Linked DNA regions of Homo sapiens: region 1 is linked to region 2. Evidence: promoter capture Hi-C in 16 types of primary human blood cells and fetal thymus (Javierre and others, 2016). All regions are on one chromosome and are shown on one strand. The core of a region is centred on a gene start or on the middle of the fragment in contact, and the rest is flanking DNA. Distances in the headings are between cores, read along the strand shown. Region 1 holds the start of ETNPPL (ethanolamine-phosphate phospho-lyase). Region 2 holds the start of RRH (retinal pigment epithelium-derived rhodopsin homolog).

Region 1 (3,506 bases), core at 213-2,712, 1.1 Mb before region 2:
CCTTTATCCAGTCAGCCCATGGCTACACTCGTGCTTTTAGAAAATTTGTTCTGCTCATGTCAGAAACCATTAGGCATTTACCGGAATCTAACTAAGATTGAAAACTAACGCAGTGAGTGATTAGAAAAAGTAGGGTAGTGATTGATTAATGGGGAAAGAACTGGATTATTTTGATCCCACTTAGCGGCTGAGAGAGATGGAACTAGTCTTCCAAACCACCCAGAAACCCCTCCAGTTGGGGTGAGGAGCTTCAGTCTGAGAAACTGTCCAGCATTCCTCCGAAGAGGATGCGGATTGTTTTCTTCCTTGTAACCCCAAGTGCTCTCTCATGCCCACTGGCCCGGCTGCAGTCGTTCATTTCAAGTGAATATTGCAGACGGTTGACTTTACAGTATTCGGGGTCATTAATCATCATTTATATTTACACGTATCTTTTTAAAAACCACGCACAAAACACTAACATATTAATCTCATCTTCTTGCTCCTGTGAAGTAGAATGTTATTCCTACTTTCATAGAAGAGACAATTAATTTGACAGAGGTCCACACAGGGAATATGACATCCAACGAGAGCTAGAGCCCCTGTCGGTCTTATATACTCACCTTTATATTACTAAGTCGTTTGTGACGGGGGCAAGACAAGCAGGCTGGGAAGAACACAGCTTGGGAGAGCAAGTTGGGTAAGAGGGATCTAAATAAAGTCTCTGCTTTTCTAACAGAAGGTGGTTTCAAGTTTTTCTATTGGCTAGATAAACCCTTCATCACTTAACCAAGCATGCAAGAAGAAAAAGCTCACTTTAAGTAAAAATTGTCAGAATTGGTTTGTTTGCGGAGCCATCATGAAAAAATATTTCTCAGTTCACAGTTTCCAAAAACTTTCGAGTTGTGTGGGGGTGGCGGAGCGCTATCCTTCTTCCACCCATCTCCCATCCCTGGAATGGTGTCTGCTAGGGCTATTGGCCGTCATCCACCAACCCCTCTAGCCGGCCGGCAGCCCCCGCTAGTCCGCCGGCTGCAGAGCGAGCCGGGGACTTTCGAGCGGGCAGGAAGCCCAGCGTTCCGGGTTCCAGGAGCGTTTCTGGGAGTCCGCGCGGCCCCTGCAGGTGGAGGCGCGCGGGGCGCGTGCACAGGCGCGGCGGGCACGGAGTGCGGCTGCAGCGCATCGTTTGTTCCCTAGCCGGCTTTCTCTCTCCACCTTCTGCACTCGTTATTGCCCCCTCTCTGCACTTACTTCCGGGCCAGGGTGCCCTTACCCGATGTGCTTCTTCCTCAGCCCCAGAGTGTCCCGCTTACTGTACAGCTCGCACATGGTGGCGGGGTGCAGGGCGCTGCGAAGGTGCAAGGTGCAAGGTCTGCGCGCCTCCTACGCGAGCCTGGGACTGCCTTGGCGGCCCCGGCCGGCCTTCCTCCCGTTATCCCTCCTGGCGTTCTCTTGCCCGGGGCGTCGGAGGTCACCGGTGGCGTCAACTAGCTAGGATCATCTCCCTTTTAAGTCTGGCTCTGGCGTTGCCCTTTGCCAAGCCCCTCCTCCTCCCCCGCCGGGGCCGCGGGCAGGTCGCCGGGCTAGCAGCTCATTCGCCACCACCCTGTCCTGCCAGGCCGGCTCGGCCCTACCCGCCCCTATCATTCCTCTGAATTCGCCTTTCATTCTCCTAACTTTGCCTCGTCTTTGCTTTTCCTCCTCCTCTGCCTGCGAATTCCCTCCTTCCCACGTTCTTTCTGGTTTCTTTTTAGTGTAGTCCTTTATTTTCTGGTAAAAATTCAGGAGTTAGGCGCTTCCCGGATCAAGACTCACTGCGCAGTCTGATAAGGTAACCTACCATTTACTCAGCACAAGGACGCGTCCTAACGAGAAATAACCCGGACTCAGCCTGTTATCTCCATTGGCAGTGATGATATATGCAGTGTTTCAAACATCTCCTTTAACAATGATTACACTTCTAATTCCTCTAACTATACAACTTACAAAACACATTCACATGACTTATCTTGTTCAGTCTTCAAAACAACCCTGAGAGATGACCACGAGTGTTACCCCATTTAATGAACGGGGAAAGTGAGGTTATTCCCTGTTCTAATGATTATATATCCACTTGATGCTGAAAACGGGACTCATTCTTAGATTTCTTGACTTCCTTCAAGATGGTCTTCTCACACAGATCATATCTGAAGCTAAATATGTGCACAGGTAGAAACTTTTTTTTTTTTTTTTTTTTTTTTTTTTTTTTTGAGGATGGAGTCTGGCTCTGTCACCCAGGCTGGAGTGCAGTGGCGCAATCTCGGCTCACTGCAAGCTCCGCCTCCCGGGTTCACGCCATTCTCCTGCCTCAGCCTCCCGAGTAGCTGGGACTACAGGCGCCCGTCACTACGCCCGGCTAATTTTTGTATTTTTAGTAGAGATGGGGTTTCACCATGTTAGCCAGGATAGTCTCGATCTCCTGACCTCGTGATCCCCCCGCCTCGGCCTCCCAATAGAATCTTAATTAACTGAATCATTAAATCATACATTATTTTAACTAGAAGTCATCTGGTTTAACTTCTCTGCTCTGTAGATAAGAACAGTGAGGCACAGGAAAGGTGAAGGTTTATTCAAGTTCACACAAACACTTAGTCATTGGGTTAAGGATAGGTCATTTTATTCTCTCTGTGTTTTGAAAGGGCAGCAGGGAAAGCCTAATTTGCATGTATCAACACATTTGATAAGTATTTGCAACTGATCTTTCTCTTGAAAAAAGTTATTAATATATATTCATGCACTGCAGGAGGAGTAGAATTGGATTGCCTAAGGTAGAAAGAGAAATGGAGTCCTATGAGGAACAGTGTGTTAATTCCAGATTTTAGGCCAGGCGCCGTGACTCACGCCTGTAATCCCAACATTTTGGGAGTCCAAACTGGGCGAATCACCTGAGGTCTGGAGTTCCAGACCAGCCTGGCCAACATAGCAAAACCCCATCTCTACTAAAAAAATACAAAAATTAGCTGGGCGTGGTGGTGGGCACCTGTAATCCCAGCTACCCAGGAGGCTGAGGCAGGGAGAATTGCTTGAACCTGGGAGGCAGAGGTTGCAGTGGGTTGAGATCATGCCACTGCACTCCAGCCTGGGCAACAGAGTGAGACTCCATCCCCCTCCACAAAAAAAAGAAAAAAAAAAGAATTCCGTGTTTTATAAATGAAGAGCAGGAAGCACTTTGGAGACTTGCAAGAAATCCCAGTTATGTAATCTTGGTCTAGTTCTGTGCCTGAAAGATATTGCCAACTGTATATCTACTCTCAAACCACCTTGACCTGGTGAAGTCATAGTCACACTTCCTTCATAAAACTTTATGGATTCTTGTTGTTAATATTCCCAGTGCCTTAAGAAACTCTGGATTAAGAGTCTTGGGTTCTAGATCTGGTTCTTCCATAAACCAGCTGGGCTTCTTAACCTTTCTGAGGCCCAATTTCTTTGTATTGAAAACTGAGCTCTGTGGCTGGTGGGGAGCTACACAGCTGTAATCCCAACACTTT
Region 2 (3,495 bases), core at 331-2,830:
GGAAGCATAAAAAAGAACTTCAAATGCACCTACCTCACTCATATCAAAACTTTCATCTGCAGCAGAAAGCTGACTATCTGAAATTATATATTTTTCAGTTCTTAGAAATAATTATTTCTGGAAAATTTTTCATGGATGCTACAACTAGGTATAACTTATTACAGAAAAGGAAGGTAGTATGACCCAAAGCAAATTCAAAAATTTTAAGTTTTGTTTTGCATATTGAATGAAAGAAAAGACAAAGACTTTTTAAAGGGAGTGATTTCCTCTTGGGTATTATGTTTTTTGCTCTAGGGTCATTTGAAAACAATACTGACGAGATTCGCTTTTCTAGTATAGGTATAACAATATTACATTTATAAAAATGTGAGTACTGGTAGCTATAAGATTTGGGACAGATAAATCAACCTGTTCATCTTGAGTTTATACACAGGCAAGAGAACTGAAGCAAAAGGATTATCTTAGGTTTCTGCTGTGCCATTCTAGGATTTTTATAAAATTAAACTAAGTGGGTAAATATAGCCCTCTAGTGGTTCTGTTTTATGCTTACACTGTTAACTTTGGTGCATCTAAGCATTTCTCTAATGTTTACTGATTTTAGGAAACTGAGGAGAATCAGATTTTAATAATGTTAATGGCATAAAGAATATGGGAAAAAAGGTAATAGGGATACCTTATTATTCTAACAAAACATGCTCAGGTTGGTTTTCAGGTTGTAATGTGATAATCCAGAATATTTTTATTCTGTACTTTACAATATCAGTGATTGAATTCAGATACTCTGGCAAAGTATACAATGATTACTATCATCAGATAATATTAATTACTCATGTGCATATCAAACTATAGGGGAAATTAACGGATGGTGGAGTTGATCATATTATATCCATGCTATGAAATACATAGCTACTAATAAATTAGACTTTATTAGATTCTGGGTTTATTAACTTGGATATTATAATACAGCCTTATGGGAAAACAAGTTGCATTATATATATACATTTGTACTTATTTTTTTCCCTCATTTTTATTTACAAGAAGAAAGTGGAGGAAACCTGAAACACTTGTATGAATATGTGTATAAGCAGAGAAAAGCCTAAGAAAGGATATGCACCAAACAATACTGGTACCTTTAGGAGAGTGAGATTTGGAAGTAGGAAGGAGACTACTTCTTTGTCACTAATATTTAAATTGTTAAGAAAAAAAAAACAACAAAAGGAGCCGAAATGGAAAGACTTGAATGGTCAACAGAAAACAGGGACCTTAATCCGAATAGTTTTAGAGGACTAAGGCTGGCTCCTATACTGATTTCCTGAGTTTGTTTATTGTTAAATGGGATGTGTGTGCTTGATAATCTCCTTAGATAGAAGACTGATGCCCAAATAGGTTAAAATGTGTGGTGCTTGGTATTTCTTTTTGTTTTGCTAATAAGCTTTTCCCTTATTCTGGGAATTAAAGTCCTTTCCTCTTTAGCCCAATTAAATTTGTTAAGGGAGGGCCTCTATGAAAAGGCCCTTCTTTGAGGTCTCTAAGTGGAAATGATTGGTCCTAAAAAATCTTTCCTCAGTAGCTCATAAAGCAGTTCATAATTATCGAAGGCTTATTATGAAGGGTGTTTCGGTATCTTCCCTCCAAAATGCTAAGAAATAATTTAGGCAACAGTTCAGACTCTAAAAATGAAGATGGCTCGGTCTTTTCACAGACTGAACACAATATTGTTGCAACTTACTTGATTATGGCAGGTATGGATATTTAAGTAAGTTATTTTTCTTTAGAATGGGTGAAGAAAGGCAGAAGTTTTCAGCATAAGGCATGCATTGTTTCAAGTTCCATATTATTGGCCAACCTTGACAAGTCATTTATCCTGACTTGGCTTGCTCGTTGGTAAATGAGGATGATGATACTCTATTTCTGGGCTGTAAAGATCAAATAAGATAATGTGGGTGAAAGAATAAGGGAAAGCATTGTTAGTGATGGCCATTGCCACAGGTTATTTTGAATTTTGGTAAATAAGAGCAGTGAAGTGGGGCTGAGAAAAGTTTTCTATGTGATAAATAGTTCTTTCATAAAAATCTATGTATTTGATTATTGGATTGTTAAAGTTTTTATTGGAGAAGAGTATGCACCATGGCAAAAACATATTTTTATGTCATTTACTATTCTTATACATAACCCTCATATTTTTGTTCTTGGTGGTAGAATTTAGCTAAGAACTTAAAGGTTCTGGAAAGAAAAAGTCCTAAGAAGACAGAGCAGGGTATATTGTCATTGAGGACAGAGTCTGAAAATTCAGCTTGTTCCAGAATGCTTATTGGAAAACTCTTGAGTTTTGGATTTCATCTTTTAGTATATTTGCAACTGTGAGCATGTATCTTCCCTTTTTGTTCTTCCATTTTCTCATCTGTAAAACAAGGATAAGAATAAGTTATCTGTCATGATTGTTATAAGGAGTAAAATTAAGTGACACATAAATGCCATATAGTAGGTGTTGGACAAATATTTGTTTCTTTTTCCCTTTCCTCCCTACACACTCATTGATGTAAAGGATTGTTTGCAGAAAAAAAGGGATGGGGGAATGACAGAAACTTTTTATCTTTTTAATGTATCATTGAATTGTGTAACTTTTATATTGAGCAATCACTTAATTTTCAACTTTATACTCTAACGAGTTGTAGAAGTAACTCTTATATTGAGTTCATTATTTTTTGGATTGACTTTTATAAAAATTTTCAAACATTCAAAAGTAGAGTGAAAAGTATAACACACCATCCTATACCCAGTTTATAATTGTTTACGTTTCTTCCTTATAATTCAGCGTATTACTTCTAGTACTGGAAATTGAGTTCCTCAGTTAAGTTTTGCGATTTTAGTGACGTTATCTCGTTCATTTGAATACCTCTATGATAAGTACTAGACAAGTTCTAGTTTTTTTGTAATTGCAAAAAAGACTGAGAAAATCTCCTAACAATTACATGGAAATACTTTGTATACAAGTGTTTGGTTTAGTTAGTTATTTGTAGATGACCAAAAAAAAAAAAAATCCAAAAAACAACCAAAACTATCCTTTTTTGACCTGGTTACAAAATTAGCATGCAGAAAATATTCTATTTAGTTCTTATCTCTGTAACAGTAATAATAATAGTAATCTTACTACTACTGCTACTAATGTTATCATTTGAATACTTGCTATATACCAAGCACTGTTCTAAAACCTTACACATACAGAATAATTCATCCTTACACTAATTTAGTAAGTTACTCTTCAGTTTTATTTCTCTAGTTTATACAGATGAAGAGCTTAAGAAACTTGTCCAGCACACACATTTACTAAGCAGCTACACCAGGATTTGAACCCAGGCATTTTGGTTCTAGAGCCCTCACATATAAATCCAAGAGTCAGCTTTATCAAGGTATACAATGAGTGTGTGTTGTTTGTGTTTCTGGTGGATCCACTGAAGGAAGCATAGCTGAACTCTTTATGCTTTTGTTCTGCCC

Evidence for each region. The method cuts DNA at HindIII sites, captures the fragments that hold promoters and counts their contacts. A CHiCAGO score of 5 or more calls a contact.
Region 1: the fragment with the promoter of ETNPPL here is called in contact with the fragment with the promoter of RRH in region 2 in 2 of 17 cell types (fetal thymus and non-activated CD4 T cells); the score reaches 6.5 in fetal thymus.

Annotation. Positions count from the first base shown.
Region 1 is chr4:108,761,591-108,765,096 of GRCh38, forward strand. It overlaps ETNPPL (ethanolamine-phosphate phospho-lyase), which reads right to left and starts at 1,463. Exons shown (of 13, transcript NM_031279.4): 1 at 1,253-1,463. The coding sequence starts at 1,308. The HindIII fragment of the contact is 7,360 bases long and covers 1-3,506 here.
Region 2 is chr4:109,826,392-109,829,886 of GRCh38, forward strand. RRH (retinal pigment epithelium-derived rhodopsin homolog) reads left to right here and starts at 1,581. Exons shown (of 7, transcript NM_006583.5): 1 at 1,581-1,742. The coding sequence starts at 1,637. The HindIII fragment of the contact is 4,893 bases long and covers 1,431-3,495 here.